Regions from separate parts of the Homo sapiens genome. Here all the other regions are linked to region 5. The links are contacts of gene promoters, found by promoter capture Hi-C in blood cells and fetal thymus (Javierre and others, 2016). All regions are on one chromosome and are shown on one strand. The core of a region is centred on a gene start or on the middle of the fragment in contact, and the rest is flanking DNA. Distances in the headings are between cores, read along the strand shown. Region 1 overlaps SYN3 (synapsin III). Region 2 overlaps RFPL2 (ret finger protein like 2). Region 3 overlaps SLC5A4-AS1 (SLC5A4 antisense RNA 1). Region 4 overlaps SYN3 (synapsin III). Region 5 holds the start of FBXO7 (F-box protein 7). Region 6 has its middle 21 kb from the start of C22orf42.

What was found. The method cuts DNA at HindIII sites, captures the fragments that hold promoters and counts their contacts. A CHiCAGO score of 5 or more calls a contact.
Region 1: a fragment that was not itself captured here is called in contact with the fragment with the promoter of FBXO7 in region 5 in 3 of 17 cell types (erythroblasts, M1 macrophages and M0 macrophages); the score reaches 7.0 in erythroblasts.
Region 2: a contact is called between a fragment that was not itself captured here and the fragment with the promoter of FBXO7 in region 5, in 1 of 17 cell types (naive CD4 T cells). The highest score is 5.9, in naive CD4 T cells.
Region 3: a contact is called between a fragment that was not itself captured here and the fragment with the promoter of FBXO7 in region 5, in 2 of 17 cell types (naive CD4 T cells and total CD4 T cells). The highest score is 5.3, in naive CD4 T cells.
Region 4: a contact is called between a fragment that was not itself captured here and the fragment with the promoter of FBXO7 in region 5, in 1 of 17 cell types (M1 macrophages). The highest score is 5.2, in M1 macrophages.
Region 6: a contact is called between a fragment that was not itself captured here and the fragment with the promoter of FBXO7 in region 5, in 11 of 17 cell types (naive CD4 T cells, total CD4 T cells, activated CD4 T cells and 8 more). The highest score is 15.3, in naive CD4 T cells.

Annotation. Positions count from the first base shown.
Region 1 is chr22:32,815,065-32,817,764 of GRCh38, reverse strand. All of the region lies in intron 6 of SYN3 (synapsin III), which reads left to right. The region is part of intron 1 of TIMP3 (TIMP metallopeptidase inhibitor 3); the gene reads right to left. Among named protein-coding and RNA genes, the nearest start is that of TIMP3, 15 kb to the right of the region's middle. The HindIII fragment of the contact is 7,068 bases long and covers 1-2,700 here.
Region 2 is chr22:32,195,405-32,198,202 of GRCh38, reverse strand. The region is part of intron 2 of RFPL2 (ret finger protein like 2); the gene reads left to right. Among named protein-coding and RNA genes, the nearest start is that of RFPL2, 8.3 kb to the left of the region's middle. The HindIII fragment of the contact is 3,731 bases long and covers 1-2,798 here.
Region 3 is chr22:32,211,780-32,214,593 of GRCh38, reverse strand. All of the region lies in intron 2 of SLC5A4-AS1 (SLC5A4 antisense RNA 1), which reads right to left. Among named protein-coding and RNA genes, the nearest start is that of SLC5A4-AS1, 8.1 kb to the right of the region's middle. RefSeq lists an enhancer at 1,991-2,492. The HindIII fragment of the contact is 3,566 bases long and covers 1-2,814 here.
Region 4 is chr22:32,837,213-32,839,912 of GRCh38, reverse strand. All of the region lies in intron 6 of SYN3 (synapsin III), which reads left to right. The region is part of intron 1 of TIMP3 (TIMP metallopeptidase inhibitor 3); the gene reads right to left. Among named protein-coding and RNA genes, the nearest start is that of TIMP3, 37 kb to the right of the region's middle. The HindIII fragment of the contact is 1,043 bases long and covers 763-1,805 here.
Region 5 is chr22:32,473,413-32,476,112 of GRCh38, reverse strand. FBXO7 (F-box protein 7) reads right to left here and starts at 1,302. Exons shown (of 9, transcript NM_012179.4): 1 at 989-1,302. The coding sequence starts at 1,110. RefSeq lists enhancers at 786-955, 541-1,041, 1,210-1,379, 1,042-1,542, 2,268-2,327 and silencers at 712-1,021, 1,032-1,221. The HindIII fragment of the contact is 4,456 bases long and covers 1-2,700 here.
Region 6 is chr22:32,136,877-32,139,654 of GRCh38, reverse strand. No RefSeq gene overlaps it. Among named protein-coding and RNA genes, the nearest start is that of C22orf42, 21 kb to the left of the region's middle. The HindIII fragment of the contact is 8,725 bases long and covers 1-2,778 here.

The DNA of each region.
Region 1 (2,700 bases), core at 1-2,500, 340 kb before region 5:
TTCAATCATGTCCTTAACGGTATAAACAAGATCCTAGGATTTAAAAATCTGATGTGTGCCCAGAACTGAGCCAAGCAAGATTATAAAACAAGTCATGACCACAGGAAGGAACTTTAAATCTGGCAAATGTGTGACCTTGAAGGTCAGCCTTCCCTTCCTCCTTTTTCTTCTGGTCCCTACAAAGCACCCACTGGCACCACTACAGCCATTTCTGTTTGGCAACCCTAGGAGAGCAGCTTCCCTGTGTAATGCAGATGATACTTCCTAATTTCTTCTTCCCTACTCAGCAATCACAATGGCAGGCAAGTGGGCAAAAGGGGTTTTCAGAATCCTCATCTGGGCAGTGTCTCACCAACTGCATTTGTAGGTGCTTCTTGGGAAAATTAGTTCCTTGGCTAGATATGTTCAGAGAACACTGGATTAAACAGAGCTAAACAGGTCACCATGCAGCAGGACTTCTCAGAGCTTTTACTATGCTAATAGCCACATGTCTCTCCAAGAGGGGAATACAATAAACAGCTCTCCCAAATAACATTTTTTTTTTTTTGAGATAGAGTCTTGCTCTGTCACCCTGGCTGGAGTGCAGTGGTACAATCATGGCTCACTGCAGCCTCAACCTCGTGGACTCAAGCGATTCTCCCACCTAAGCCTCAAGAGTAACTGGGACTACAGGCCCAACCACCTTTTCTTTTTTTTTTTTTTAAATTAGTAGAGACAGGGAATCTTACTATGTGACCCAGACTGGTCTTCAATTCCTGGGCTCAAGCGATCCTCTCGCCTCAGCCTCCCAAGGTGGGGTTATATGCGTGAGCCGCTGTGCCCGGCTCCAAAGAACATTTCTTAAGATTGGTGGTGCAAGGATCACACCTTGAGAAACACTGATTTAGGCCTTCCCACAGTACAAAGAAATGTTGCCTGCCCCATCCTTACAGCACACCTGATGACTTACAAGAGGTGCTGCTGAATTCCTCCCAGGGAAGCGACCTTAATTCTTCTCAGCAAGACAAGGAGGCAGCCTTCAGGAAGGACCCAGGAGCTTGGTATTAGAGGATGATCCAAGTCTGATGGCAAATTTAGAGTGCTCCAGGGAACACTGAAGTCTTGATGATAGGGCAAAAGGGAGTGATTCCATCTTTCTAACCTGGCAGGATAGCAGGTAACAAGACAGAAATAAGGAAAAAGCAAGCTGAACTTGTCTTTCCCTGACATTTGAACTGCCTGCTGTTCTCCTCACCAAAAATAAAAAAGCTGGTCTCAAGACAACAAAAGTAGAGAAGTAAAGGTAACAGAGGTCTCCAGCCTGCAGGAAGACTCATATAACCTCAGTCCAAAGTTCTTTTTATACAAAGCACAGATTTTTACTGGCTAAGTGCTCACCCAATGACCCATTTTCAGTATTTGTTTATTCCTGTATTTCACCCATGTTTATCGAGCACCTACTGAGTGTGTGGCCCGTAGTCAGGAATGCCCATCAATTACCAGGCAGCAAGGCTATTCTTAGTTTTCTGATGTCTATTTAAAGAGTGTTAATCCTCTGGCCTCCCCCCTACCCCCGCCCCTGCAATTAGACACATACCACTTTCCAACCTGGTACACTGACCTCGCCCAACTGGGAAGGCGGAATGGACAAGTGTTCTTCCCACCCTGCTTAACTTGGCCAAGAATCTGGCTTCATGGGTTAGGGCAGCCTGGGAACCAGCCAAGCCAGAGGAGACGAGCCTGCTTTGCCTGGGCCCTTCAATCAGTGCTGGGGTCAAAAACCTCCCTGTTCTGTTCCTTACTAGTGGCACAGTAAGGCAGAAAGTGTTGAGACTCAAGAGCAGAAAAATCCAGGCTGTCTAGTGGGGCGGTGAAGACCACAGACCACAGAACAGACACACCTGCTCAAATACTAGCTCTGCCATCATGCAGTGGGGTGACCGTGGGCAGAATTGGTGAGATTGCTCGGACTCTGGAGTCAGGAGGTCCGGCTCAAATCTGGCTTCACTATGTAGGTACATACTAGGTAAGTTACCTAGTCTCTCTCAGCTTCAGTATTTTCATCTGCAAAGTGGAATGAGGAGGACAAGGATGATAACACTAATAATTTCTGACATGTATGTTTATAGTAAAGAATAGAATTTATTACATGTATATATGTATATAAAGATCTTAAAATAGCTGTCAACAAATAGTAGCTGCTTTCATATTTAATTCCTCTTAAGTCCCAATTTTTTTCATCTGCAAAGTAGAAATAGGAGTGCCTACCTCAATGAGTGGTTATGAGAGTTTAAAGGAGATAATGCTTTAAAAGGTCTTGGCATATAAAAACAAATCAATAAATGTTAAAATATTATCAAATGGTTATTATTTTTGTTCCAGTTCCATCTCTATCTCTTAAACCAAGCTGCTGTACCTCTTTGGACCTCAGTTTCCCCATCTGTCAAGTGAGAGACCTGGATCAGATGGCTTCTCCAGTGTCACCGCACATGGGTTCCCTGCACTGGGACCCACAAGGCCTAGAAGTTACTTGCAGCAAAGCTGTCAGTAGCCTCTGAGCCTTGGTCAGCCCAAAAGTACCTCGAACAGCCCCATATCCCTGTGCACAGTTCATGAAACTAGAAATGGGGAGGGGAAGATGCCTTGCCTTTGCAAATGTTATCTTGACCTGTGCTGTAGTATTAACATGGCGGCCACTAACCACAGGTAGCTGAAACGCAA
Region 2 (2,798 bases), core at 143-2,642, 280 kb after region 5:
TCTCTACACTACAGGGTTGTTGTAACCCTGATCTCTTGGTGTGATCACAAAGCAAGAGCAGGGAGGCATCCTCAGGTGTCCCCAATGCCCCAGAGAAGGGGCAGCTTGGCCCAGAGTCAGCAGCCGTGGGAAGGTCCAATCTGACCACAACCACAACTCCAGGGGTCTCCCTTCCATCCTCCCTGGTGTTGTCTTAGTTTGGGATGGGTCTTGCCAGGTACTAGTAAGAAAGTCCAGCCTCAACCTCCAGGGAGAAGTTGGAAGCAAGCCCCTATCACCCTCTCAGGGTCTCATGTTCATTTTGGGTGTGTTTGGAGTGTCTGACTCAAAAGGACTATGTAAGTAGCAGCCGGAGTGTGATCTCTAAATCCCACTTCCAACCCAAAAGTCCATCAATGATAGACTGGATTAAGAAAATGTGGTACATATGCACCATGGAATACTATGCAGCCATAAAAAAGGATGAGTTCATGTCCTTTGTAGGGACATGGATGAAGTTAGAAACCATCATTCTGAGCAAACCAACGCAAGGACAGAAAACCAAACACTGCATGTTCTCACTCGTAGGTGGGATTTGAACAATGAGAACACTTGGACACAGGGTGGGGAACATCACACACCAGGGCCTGTCGTGGGATGGGGGGACAGGGGAGGGATAGCATTAGGAGATATACCTAATGTAAACGACGAGTTAACGGGCGCAGCATATGGCACATGTATACGTATGTAACAAACCTACATGTTGTGCGCATGCACCCCAGAATTTAAAGTATAATAATAAAAAAAAATGAAGTAAAAAAAAAGAAAAAAAAAAGAACTTGGCTTCTGGACTGTGGGTGTGAGGAAAGAAAAGCTCTTTGCAGCCAGCACTGTGCCTTTAACCACCCTCTGGGTCAGTCCCGGGCTATGCAGGGTAGGCATTTTCCTGGATATGTGTATGAGAATGATTTCCTTTTATAACATTAATGATGGGACTCATATCTTTACATTCACTAAGATTTCTGCTGCAGAGCCACTGTGCCCATTTTTTGCTTTTGCAGATTCAATTATCAATGACCAAATCTTCCTGAGTATCTGTCCTGTGATTAATCTGGGCATTGACAAACCTATAGTTTCTCCTGAGCAGGGCAAATAAACTTTTAGCCACAAAACTATTTAGACAGTTACTTTATGCCCAATGCTAGAAACTTTTCTGCTTGGTACAAGATAATGGAACAAAGTTACAGCAGAAAAATATGGAACATCTCAAACCATGAATGTCAATTAAGCAGATTAATAAGAAATTGCCTTTTAAATACTAAAAAGTAGTGTTACAGTTGTCCTTTGGGTTTTACGGACTGTGGCTCCGTGTCCCTCCCACACCTGTCCGAGTGGCTTTTGCTGGCTCTCTGTGCCCTGGCTGCCTCACCCTGCACTATGCTGCTGTCTCATTGACATCACATCTCTTCTGCAAATCTATCTTGCTGTCTGTTCCTTCTTCCCTGGAGCAGCTGAAAGGATCATCTTGTGAATTTGGTTCTTTTCATAAGTCATTCTCACACTCTTTACATTGTATCCAGCCTGGTTTTGGCAGAAAGTTTTTCTCACACAGAGGATAAACCAGGACTGGACTCTGTCTTTACATGTGGATGTGGAGTGACCCAGAATCCAGCAAAGAGCAAACCCCAAATGATTGCTTTATGACCGGATCCAATTCATTCTAATCACGTAAAGTTAACCTGGCTCCCTACACACTGTCTCCCAAGCCTTGTTTTCTTGCTCAGACACTGAATCCCGAGGAGTGATCTCATCCCACTGTAAATCATTTTTTAATAGAACTAAATGTAGGTCTTTTAAAAATATATATACAAAGAAAAAAATCTTCATTTAATATGTGATACACTTTAGGAGAGGGAAATAGATTATATTCAAGTTATTTGAAATTTGAAAACAAAGCTGTTATTTTATGAATTAAGTACAAATTAATCACTAACCTGGCCATTTCCACGATACCTGCAGATTCATCACTTCTCTGGGTCAAGACCTGAGTCTCAGCCTGGAGGACATTATGTTAAGCAAAATAAATCAGGACCAGAAAGATAAATACCGCATGTTCTCACTCCTATATGGGAGGTAAAAGAAAAATGCTGAGCTCACAGAAGCAGAGCATAGAATTGTGGGTATAGAGGCTGGGAGGGTAAGGGGCAGGGGAGCTTGGGGAGAGGTTGGTTATTGGATACAGAATTACAGCTAGATGGGAGAAATGGGCTTTGGTGGAGGCTGGGAAGGGTAAGAGGGAGGGGAGCTTGGGGAGAGGTCGGTAATTGAATATAAAATTACAGCTAGATGGGAGAAATGGGCTCTAGCACAACTGTGGGGTAAATATGGTCACTTATACATGATTGCATATTTTCAGAAAGTTAAGAGGATTCTGAAGGCTCCCATCACAAAGAAATAATAAATGTTGGCCGGGCGCGGTGGCTCACACCTGTAATCCCAGCATTTTGGGAGGCCAAGGCGGGCGGGTTACCTGAAGTCAGGAGTTCAAGACCAGCCTGGACAAAATGGTGAAACCCCGTCTCTACTAAAAAAAAAAAAAAATTAGCCAGGCATGGTGGCACATGCCTGTAATCCCAGCTACTCAGGAGGCTGAGGCAGGAGAATTGCTTGAGCCCAGGAGCCGGATGTTGCAGTGGGCCAAGTTTGTGCCACTGCACTCCAGCCTGGCTGACAGAGCAAGACACTGTCTCAAAAAAAAAGAAAAAAGAAAAGAAAGAAATGTTTAGAGTGTGCTAATTATCCTGACTTGATTATTATAC
Region 3 (2,814 bases), core at 66-2,565, 260 kb after region 5:
CAGGCACATGCCACCACACCCTATTTTTTTCAGAGATGGGATCTTGCCATGTTGCCCAGGCTGGTCTTGAACTCCTGACTTCAAGTTACTCACCTCAGCCTCCCAAAGCGCTGGGATTACAGGCATGAGCCACTGCATCCAGCCAACAATTCCCCTTCAGATGGACATTCAAGTTAAGTACTCTTTGCCACCACAAATAGTGTTGTAGCAATCATCTTTTACACTGGATGGTTTCATTTCTACAGGACAGAATCTTTGTAGTGGTATAACTTAGCCATAGCTATGTTTACTTACACTTTTAATAGATACTGATTAGTTACTTTCCAAAAAGTTGAAGCAATTCACATTCCCATCAACAGGGAACAAGCAGGAGGACCGTTTCCCCTGCAGGCTCAGTAGCAACAAAAGTTGTTGCTTTTTCAAAAAATATATATATCTTGCTAATTCCCTTGGTGAAAAATCTCACAGGAGTGCTAACTAATCAGTTATTTTAACTTCAATTAGTTGCCTATTTATAACCTTTTCCTATTTTTCTATCAAGTGGTTTAAGGTGAGGAACATTCTTAAAACAGGAAACCTAAAAATAATAAACACATTTTGTATATCAAAAGGCAGTGCAAATGAAATTGAAAATGTGGAGTCCAAAAGATATTACAAAACAGGAAAAAAAGAGCTCCCATAAATAAATGAGAAAGAGACAAGTAAGCCTAACTGTTGAACTGCATTTGGATAGGAAGAAACAGACTTGGGCTTCCCTGCTATATATATAGATATATATGTATACATATATAGATATATATATCCATATATATGTATAGATATATATGTATACATATATAGATATATATCCATATATATGTATAGATATATATGTATACATATATAGATATATACATATATGTATAGATATATATGTATACATATATAGATATATACATATATGTATAGATATATATGTATACATATATGTATACATATATAGATATATATGTATACATATATGTATATATATACACACATACATATATAGTGTGTATATATATAGTGTGTGTATATATAGTGTGTATATATAGTGTGTGTATATATATATATAGTGTGTGTGTGTGTGTGTGTGTGTGTGTATATATATAATATAACCTCCTTGGAATAGACAATGTCTTCATACAGAGGACACAAAAATTACCAATCATAGGAGAAAAAAGCAATATATTGAACTACATCAAAATTGAAAACTTCTAGCCAACAAAAGTCACCTTAAAGGAAATGACCAAACAACCCACAAAATAACTGAAAATACTTAGAGTACGCACACGTCTGACAAAGGAGTTGTATCCGGAATAAAAAGACCAACAGGCCAACTTTAAAACTCAAAAAAAAAAATGACACTTGGAGAAGAGCTTCAAGGTGACTGACTAGAGGTGCCCAACATTCGTCTCCTCCACAAAGAAGGAGCAAAACAGATAATCACATGTCAAATAGAGCATCTAACAGAGAATGCTGGAATTCAGCGGGGAAGTGACAGAACCATCCGAGATATGGAAGGAGAGAAAAGCAAGACCAGATGAGCTCCCCAGTGCAGGGGAAAAGGTAAGTGAGAGATTCCCAGGGGTCCACATTCCCACCACAGATTCCTGCAACCCTGGCCATGGGAGAGCCCCTCAGCTCTTGTGGGCCCTGAGACAGCATAGGATGCTGCCTGTACTTGTCCACGCAATGGCATTGTTCCAGAGGGAGTCGTGCTGGGTACCACACACACACTTTAGATCCAAGAAGCTCCAGCACGTGCCATTTTGAGAGCCCAGACCCCATGAGGATTGCCTCTTGCCCTGGGGCCCAACAGCCCTGCATCTCCACATCCCTAGAGCCCCCCTGACATCTCCCCTTATCCACTTAGAGGGCTACAGCAGCATGATGCCGGCTAGACCAGCGGTTTGACCGCGTCTCCAGCACTCTAGCCCACACAAGAGTCCTACACCCCAGGGAATGGGCAATGCAGTGCACCAAGGAGGCCAGCTCCATGACAAAGGAAACCCAAGTGCATGAGCCTGAGAGCCATCTGCCTGTGGCTGCTGCCACTGACAGCAACCCCACATCCCACCCCCAGCAGCAGGGCTGACACAAAATTGCACGTACCTTCATTGTGTCTGGGAACCAGCCCACCCAGATACTGTCCCAGGGCTTGAGGGAAGACTTGCCCCACTCGCCGCCGCTGCACTTCCAGGCAAGCACCTGGGAGCCTGAGGATTGTTCTGTCCCACCTGCTGCCATGGGCACAGGCAAGAACCATCAGGAGGCCCGCCAGCAGACCCAGCGCCACATTGTGACACAGGCTCATACAAAAACCCCTCCCTGGGATGCCCCTACCCCCAGCCCCCACTGCAGCTGTGAGGAAGGAAGCTCTGGCCACTCCCCCTGGTGGCATCTGCTCATTGAGTCCACACACCCCTCACCCTCACCCCCACAGATAAGGGGACAAGTGACATCCTGTGACCAGCAGCAGGATCCCTGGAGGACATCGGCGTCTTGGGTTTGGTTTTCCCACCAACCATCATGTAGTCATGGGGATGAGTTTATCAGAGGGCATTTATGCCACTAGGAGGAATTTTCATGGACAGGGATACCTGGTCTCCCTGGGGGAGTTGACTCAACACTGATTGCTTGGTGATACCATGGGGTGATGCAGACAGTACCCTCTCCCTCCAGGGAGAAGCTGGTTACCCTAGAGTGCAGTGTCCTGGGAACCTTCCCATTAACCTAGCCCTGACTCCAGGAGTTTCAGCCCCATCTTCCCAGGTCTTGACCCAGTTGGGATGG
Region 4 (2,700 bases), core at 35-2,534, 360 kb before region 5:
GGCCCCTGCTGACGTCTGTTGTAGATGAAATGAAGGGGCCGGGAAGGGGAGGCAAGGAAACACAGGCTTAGGAAGGTCAGGCTTCCTGGAACTTTGAGATTACCCAAAAGAACACAACACAAAATTAGCATCCCATGCTGGCCTTCATGTGTTAAGGGGCAACCTCAGTTTTACACAATGAAATGACAAAATTTAAGAGTCGCTCCTTCTAGGTATATGCCTGGACTTGGGATGAATGCATTTGATGTTTAATCTAACTGCTTAAAGTCAGCCACTCTTGATTTCTTCCTGGGGCCACCAGCAATTTGGAAGAAAGGTACAGATACCTTGGCCTGGGACAGGGCAAAAGTCCTAGGGCTGGCTGATTCCTGGATTCAGGGCCGACTTACCTGGGGAGGGAGGACTGTGAATCTCAGAAGGGTGATGGTGTTTCTGTGACCTGGGTTTCTAAGGGTCCAATGAGGCGACTACCTCAAAGTGTTCACCAAGCATGATTAGAATCCCTGAGGCTTTTACTCTGCAAATGGCTGTCAGGTGGGAAATGTCAAAGCCCCAAAGGATAGACAGTGGGAAACACAGTCCTTCTCCCCTAAGTCCCCCACATTCTCCCAGGAACAAATGGGATCCACAACCCTCATTTACATCCTCACCTACACCTCCCTTGGGTTTGCAGTATCTACAGGATTATTCTGCATAGCTCGGTGGCATATATATGGCTCTTCAGAGCTGGGACCATACCTCAAACCCTATCACTCTGAAGCTTCCAGCCCCCATCACTATATGAACCTGTCCTATGATGCCCCTTGCCTAGGTGAGAATCACTTCCTCCCTGTGCATCTGCCTGCACCTTTGGCTTCCTGCAAGACCCACCCAGCTGAAATGCTACCTCCTCCAGGAAGCCTTCTGTCCACCCCAGGCCAAGCTAGTCCACCTCTCTTCTGCTTGGCTTTCCTCTCTTTCTTCCAGCACGTGTTCTTTAATGATTGGTTCCTTGGACACTCACTAGCATCGCTAATTACCGGATGGCAGGGACTGCATCTGGGACTCCAGCACATGGCATAGAGCCTAGATTGTGGCCAGGGTTCCCAAAAATGTTGAATGAATGAATGAATGAGGCTGTGGGAGGGAACCAAAGGTAATACAATAACGAAGACGGGGATGGTTTTGTGTTTGGCTTCCTGGAGTGCTGGGTCAGGAGTCCTTGTTCCATAGAGTTACTCAGAAAAGGAAGGGACAAGTAAAAATGTGATCTGGAGAGGCCGAATACCGACATTGTTCCAAAATATTGAAGACTGACCTCCAAAAAGAGGCAAGTCACAGGACCCTATTACAGGAGACCCCCATGAACTTGTTGATGTGTCTGTGGAAGGACAGCACCCAAAAGCTACCAACACATGAAGATCCCAAGGCTCAGCACCCTCAAGGAAGTCAGTGGTGACACCAAAATTAGCCCCAGGGAGTCTCCACCCAAGGCACTCCTTGCTAGACCTGCTGACTCCTCTGCAGGCCCTCTGGCCTCCAGCTGCCCCTCTTCCTTGTGGTAGCACTCAGGAAATATGAAGAGCATGGCAGGCTGTTTATCCAGGCCCCATCTCCAGGTCCTGTGTCCCTCTCTGCCATAGTGTTTATTGTTTGTTTTATTTTGCCACCCCCCCTCCTTCTCCTCAAGTCCACTTGAAATTCATTGATTCACTCATCTGATATTTATTCAGAAGTATTTGAGGAACTATGCATCTCAGATCCTGTGCCATGTCTTGGGGATTCAGTAATAAGCAGGCAGACAAGGTTCCTACCTTTAAGAAGCTTATTTTACTCTTGTGAGACAAGAAGACAGGGAGTTATAGTCCAGGGAGCCACAGGAGCATGCAGCAGACACACCCAGCCAGCCTGGAGGCGCCGGAGGGAGACATCCTGCCTGAGCTGGGATCAGAGAATCACTAGAGACAGTTAAGAGAAAGAGAAAGGAGAGGACCTTCTGGTCATGGTTGGGCAGAGGCCCGGAGGCTGGAGAGTCCAGCCCATTGGAGAGACAGAAAACAGAGAGTCCAACAAAGTACAGGGGTGCCTTGCAGTGGGCGGTAACTCCCAGCTTGGTAGGTTGGGTCTTGCTCCAACATGGGACAGTGCCATTTCTTAGGTGGGCTTCTACTCCCTGAGGCTAGTGATAAAGACTTATCACTCTGTCACTGCCCATAGACTTTAGGATTGCATGTATCCAAATGGGTGTCCAAACAGTCCATTGACAGGAGGCCCCCGAAGCCCCAAGAAACCCCTAGAAACAAGCCTGGGTCTTTGCATCAGAACCACAAATGATCTCATTCCAGTGCACATCCCATTTCTAATCTTCAACGTTAGTATTTCATGCATCTCTGTCTCCCGCCGTACCCTGTCTCCCCTCAAGCCCTTTCACCTCTTGGAGTGGTTTCGCCCTGGGTGTTTTGGCTGGGCATCTGTGCTGTGCTCTGAGGAGACATCAAGTTTAAGGGGGCATGCTGACCTCTCAAAAGCTCAAGCCCACTCAGGGGTCAGAGGCGCCGACTTGCTTACTGCCATGCAAGTGCACTCGGTGAGGGGGGCTGAGACCACCCCCTATCCCCTGAGAGTGCTCCAGCCTCTCCACGGGGGCCCATGGGAAACTTTATCCCACACAAGTGGCCACCAGAATAGCAGCATGGTCTTCAACCACAGCCCCTTTGAAGC
Region 5 (2,700 bases), core at 53-2,552:
CCCAATTCCCTAAAAATAAGGTGAAAACGTAGGAAGGTTTGCTTTTGTTTTGAAGAATTCACCTAAAAATCCCCAGGGAACATCTTTTTCATTTTTCCTTAGCACACTCAAGTTTCAAATTCACTAGCTCAGTATTTGAAGAGGACCACTCTTACCTTGCCGCTTTACTCCCAAATTATTGTCCCCAAAAAGTATCTTTTAGGGAAACAAAGCAGCTTCACCTGCAGTCCCACAAACCAATAACAGAATATGATCCTTTCTCAACTTTACTGCCCCCAAACTGCAAGCTCTCAAGATCAACGTTTGCCTCAGTTTTAGCAAAAAAGCAACATTTCACCCAAGAAAATGAAATGGTCTGAAACACGCCTACACGCTGTCCTTTCTAAAACTTTTCGGCGGCGAAGTCCAAGCGCTCACCGCGGTGCTCGGCGCATGAACACAACAGAATCTAAAATTGTTGCCGCTTCACAGCAGCGATACAAGCTACCGGTGGCCTCGGATTGAGGGCAGATTTTTAACTTCTAGCAATTTCCAAACTTTTTCATTGAAATACTCCAACAGCTGAAGAAATTAACTCGGACCCCTCACAGTCCAGAAAGGTTTAACCCAAGCCAAGCTCATCATTTCCAACTTGAAATCTAACCAGTTGTGGAAATTGTGCGTTCCCTCCTCTCCCTGGTTCCGTTTACTGCAAAACCAGAAGCCATGACTCACCGAGGAGGGGACCAGAGCCCCCGGGAGGCCGGGCCATGTTCTCCAGGAGCCGGACCCCAGCCGACCACCCGCGCTTCCCGTCGCCTGCACCCTCCGGCTCCGCGACGCCCGGAAGAGCCCGGGCCTCCCGTGAAGGCCCCCCCGGCGTCCCCGCACTTGGCCTATCGCCCGGCCACGCCCGCGCCTGCAGCCCACAGATGACGCCAACCCGCCCTGCACCCACCCCAAGCACTCCCCACTCCCCGCGGGCCGCCCAGCCCCGGCCCCAGCGTACCTGTACCCCCAGGTGCACAGCAGGGACTGCCTCAGGTGCGAGCGCAAATGCCCCAGCGTCGGCTCCGTCTCGGGCACCTCCAGCGGCCAGGTCCGCTTCAGAAGCCGCACCCGCAGCCTCATGACGGCGGCAGGCGGCCCGAGGGGCCTGGACCCGGAAGCGGCGACGGGGACGGCGGCGGGGCCGAGCAGCTCCCGCCCCAAACGGCGACGACCCCGGACTGGCGACTACCGGAGCTGAGGGGTAGCTGAGGCGAAACGGGGAAAGAGCCCCGCCACAGTGGCCGCCCTGCCACTCGGTCTCTGGAATAGAGCGCCCGCCCCTCTCCTGAGGGCGCCTCCTGGAGCCGACCCCGAGAGCTGGAGGCGGGCAGGCGGCCTAAAGGAACCGGGCCTCTCGGGGTCGGCCGATCGATGACTCCGCGCGCAACGGCGCTGCCTGAGAGCGCGGGCACAGTGCGCAGGCGCCGAGATGCGGCCGCTCGCTGGCATCCCAGATTTTCCGCGGCGGTGGCTGGGACTCCCAGTACTTACTCCCTGTGTGCGTGGAACAACGGTAGCGCTGATAGGGATGCTGCAGACAGACAATACAGTCGCCACTCCCCAGGACCAAGTGTCACCCCCTTTCTTCCGTGGCCCTCAGTTCCAGCGGCATCTGCTCTGAGAAGCCTTAGGTTAATCCTTAGGTTGGCCGGGCGCGGTGGCTCACGCCTGTAATCCCAGCACTTTGGGAGGCCGAGGCGGGTGGATCGTTTGAGCCCAGGAGTTCGAGACCAGCCTGGGCAACATGGTGAAACCCCCCCCCCCATCTCTACAAAAAATACAAAAAATTAGGTGTGGTGGCGCCTGCCTGTAGTCCCAGCTAGTTGGGTGGCTGAGGCGGGAGGGTCGATTGAGCCCGGAGGTCGAGGCCTCAATGAGCTGTGATCGCACCACTGCACCTCAGCCTGGTTCCACAGAACGAGACCCTGTCTCAAAAAAAAAGTAGAACTATTTGTAGCCAGTAATCTATGTCCGACAGTTTATTAGAACTCTGTGGCTGCATAACAATCACCCCAAAGTTTAACGCAATAAACATTTGTTGTCCCACAGGTTTTAGAGGTAAAGGGATTTGGGGATGCGTGGCTGGGTGGTTCTGTCTCCAGGTCTCCCATGAGATTACAAACTGTAGGCCAGGGCAGCAGTTATTGACTAGGGCTGGAGGATCGGCCTCCAGGATGGCACAGTCATGACTGTTGGCCAGAGACCTGTTTTCACCACGTGAACCTCCCCATAGGGCTGTTTGAGTGTCCCCATGACATGGCAGCTGGCTTCCTTCAGAGCAGGTGATCCCAGAGAGACCAAGGTATAAGCCACAATGTCTTTTATGACCTAGCTCCAGAGGTCACATACGGCTTTTGTCATATTTACAAACCAACCCTATGTGTGAGAGGATCCAGCCAAAGGTATGAATGCCAACAGACAGGGATCGCTGCGGGCCATCCTGGAGGCTGGCTACCATAGAGGGTCTAACTAATGATAACTTAGATGAGAGAGAGTATCAAGTTTCGTCCTTGTGTGATAACCATAGTCCAAATCCTTAGAGTCAAATAAAGTTTCTCCCAATAGGTGGCAGCACTTGTCCACATCCTGCCCTTGATTCTGCAAATAAATATGTATTGATTGCCTACTTTGTGACAGATACCCCACATGCTGGAGACTCAAGAGACCAAA
Region 6 (2,778 bases), core at 219-2,718, 340 kb after region 5:
GTCTGACCTTTTATAGACTTTTTTAACCTTTTATAATTTTTGTCAAAGAGCAGGTTAGCGCTTTAAGAAAAATCTGTTGTGTTTTTATTTTAATGTCCAGTTCACAGAAAAACTGGATGATACCCCTTTAACTTTAGCCAATATGTTTACACACAGAATTTTCTTTACAATTAATGTTTCAAAACTTGCTTAAACCTTCAAAACAATTTTTGTAACCTTTTAATGTAGGTAAAAATCCACATTCTTATGCTTCCTTATAATCCTTTTACCAAAGGCATATTTTACTTTCCTTATATACCTTGCACATAAACTGTTTCTTCAACAGTTTTACATTCAGGAGGATAATTAATTTAAATTATACAACATTTCTTGCATAAATTTCTTTTTCTAACACTTTTTTTCATGATTTTCACAGACAATTCTTCGACATGTCTCAACTTTCTGACTTATTGGAAACATCCCTTTCCTTAAACAACTAGTTAATTTATTTCAGGACAAGAATTTTCCATATAACATTCCTTTTTATATAAATTCTGCACCCCCACTTTTTTTCTTTTTTCTTTTTTTCGAAGATGATAACCATTCTTTTCCAAAGCAAACTTCCTTCAGGTCTGTGGACTAGACTGTCTAAGGCCACAGATTAGAAGTTACTATCATACACGTTACACTGTTAACTTTTAGCAAAACAACTTTACTTTTGTTGAAAACCTTGTAAGTGTGGGATTTCAATTATCCTTTGCTATTAATAAGACTTTGTTTAGTCCAGATTAACTTAGAATTGGTATAGATGGCTTTTTTTTTTCCTGGTTCTGTAAGTACTTCAAGGCTTGGCTGGGTGGCAAAGTTGAGCAGACCAATTATTAGGCAATTTTCCTAACTCTACTTCTACAAGAGTTTTCCTCAATTACAAAATACCCATTGTGGTTTTTCTCCTTAATCACCTGGGAGGAACTATCTATCATCCTGTCCTGAAGGTAGTTCCTCCTAGGTCTGGTCGGATCTTTGTATGGTAATTAAGATTTAAATTCCCTGTTAGGAAATCTTCTGGGTTAAGGGAATTTTCAGGGGTTTATGTTAAATCATCTTTTTCTAACGGAGTAGCCCCATACTTTAAGATTTTTGAGTTATTAAGCTACCTTTTTGCTTTTTTTTTTTTAACTTAGGATACTTCTGAACTGGTGAGGTGTGCTCACAATGAGGTTTCCTCTAAAAGTTATTTTTCTACTTTCTTCTGTCAGCAAAGCAGTTGCCGCTACAGACTGAATGCATTCGGGCCACCCGTGGGTTAATGGGTTCAAGGAATTCACACCAAATCAGAATCAAAACCAAAACCAAAGTGCAGATAAAGGACACGCCCGTTCGTCAAGCAATTTAAACCAAGTCAAAACCAAAACCAAAACCAAAACCAAAGTGCTGATAAAGGCACGCTGTGGGTGATCAGGCCATGCTTCCACTCAAATGGAGTGGACAAGTTCCCAAGACAGGTCCTGTCAAGCAATTCAAGTCAAAATCGAAACCAAAACCAAAGTGCCGATAAAGGCACGCCCATTTGTCAAGTAATTCAAACCAAGTCAAAATCAAAACCAAAACCAAAGTGCCGACAAAGGCACGCCCGTTTGCCAAGGAATTCAAACCAAGTCAAAATCAAAACCAAAACCAAAGTGCCGATAAAGGCACTCTGTGGGTGATCAGGCCATGCTTCCACTCAAATGGAGTGGGCAAGTTCCCAAGACCAGTCCTACCATGTTCCAGATATACGGACTCCAAGCGCCAGTTCCCTCCCGGTGCTCAGCCACTGCATTGATCCTCTGCTGGGGCCTGCCATGCACTGCTCTGACAAGGCATTCCACCGGGGCAAATGCCTACCCAGGAGCATGCTCAGGATCCACGTAGCTCAAGCTGGCCAGAGTCCCCTGCAGGGATGCTCCACAGGGCAAGCCTAAGCCACCTAAGGGGCTGCTTCACTTCCCGGTCAGGGAACCAAGAAATGTAGCAGGATGAGCCACAGACAAAACTCCTCAGACACCGGGTTAAAGAAGGAAGAGGCTTTATTAGGCCGGGAGGTCAGCAGACTTGCGTCATAAGAACAGAACCGAGCTCCCCAAAGAAAGAGTTCCTGGCCCTTTTAAGGGCTTACAACTCTAAGGGGTCCACGTGACAGGGTCGTGATAGACTGAGCAAGCATGGGGTACATGACTAGGTGGGGGTAAGCAAGGCAAGTATTTCTCCACACCATTGTCTGTGATCTATAGATAGCACAAGCGATTAGGGTGGGGGTTAATCTTCAGCCTACAGGCTAAAGCAACACCAGAGAGGATGGAAGTGAGACCCCTGGAGTTGTGGTTGTGGTCAGATTGGACCTTCCCGTGGCTGCTGAGACTCTGGGGCATTGGGGATACCTGAGGATGCCTCCCTGCTCTTACTTTGTGGTCACCAAGAGATCAGGGTTACCACAACCCTATAACGTAGAGAATCCCTGTCCCCTTCCATGCCACTTCACTCCTTAGGGAAGCAAACGCCCTCCCAGGAGCTCATTCCCATTCCTGGGCCACAATCAAAGGGAAAACCTGATCCAGACATGAATTTCCTTGGGCCTCTGCATTTCCAGACATCCTGTCATTGTATGCATGGGGCTGACTGTCTCATCTCAGCTTCAGAAGCGCAGGCAGAGTTGTGGACACCCTGCTGAGCAAATGCCCACCGGAGTCAGGGGTTCAGCTTTCCTGCACCACAGCTGCAGGTGGGGGCTGGGGAGGGGGGCATAGGGGGTCCTAGGGA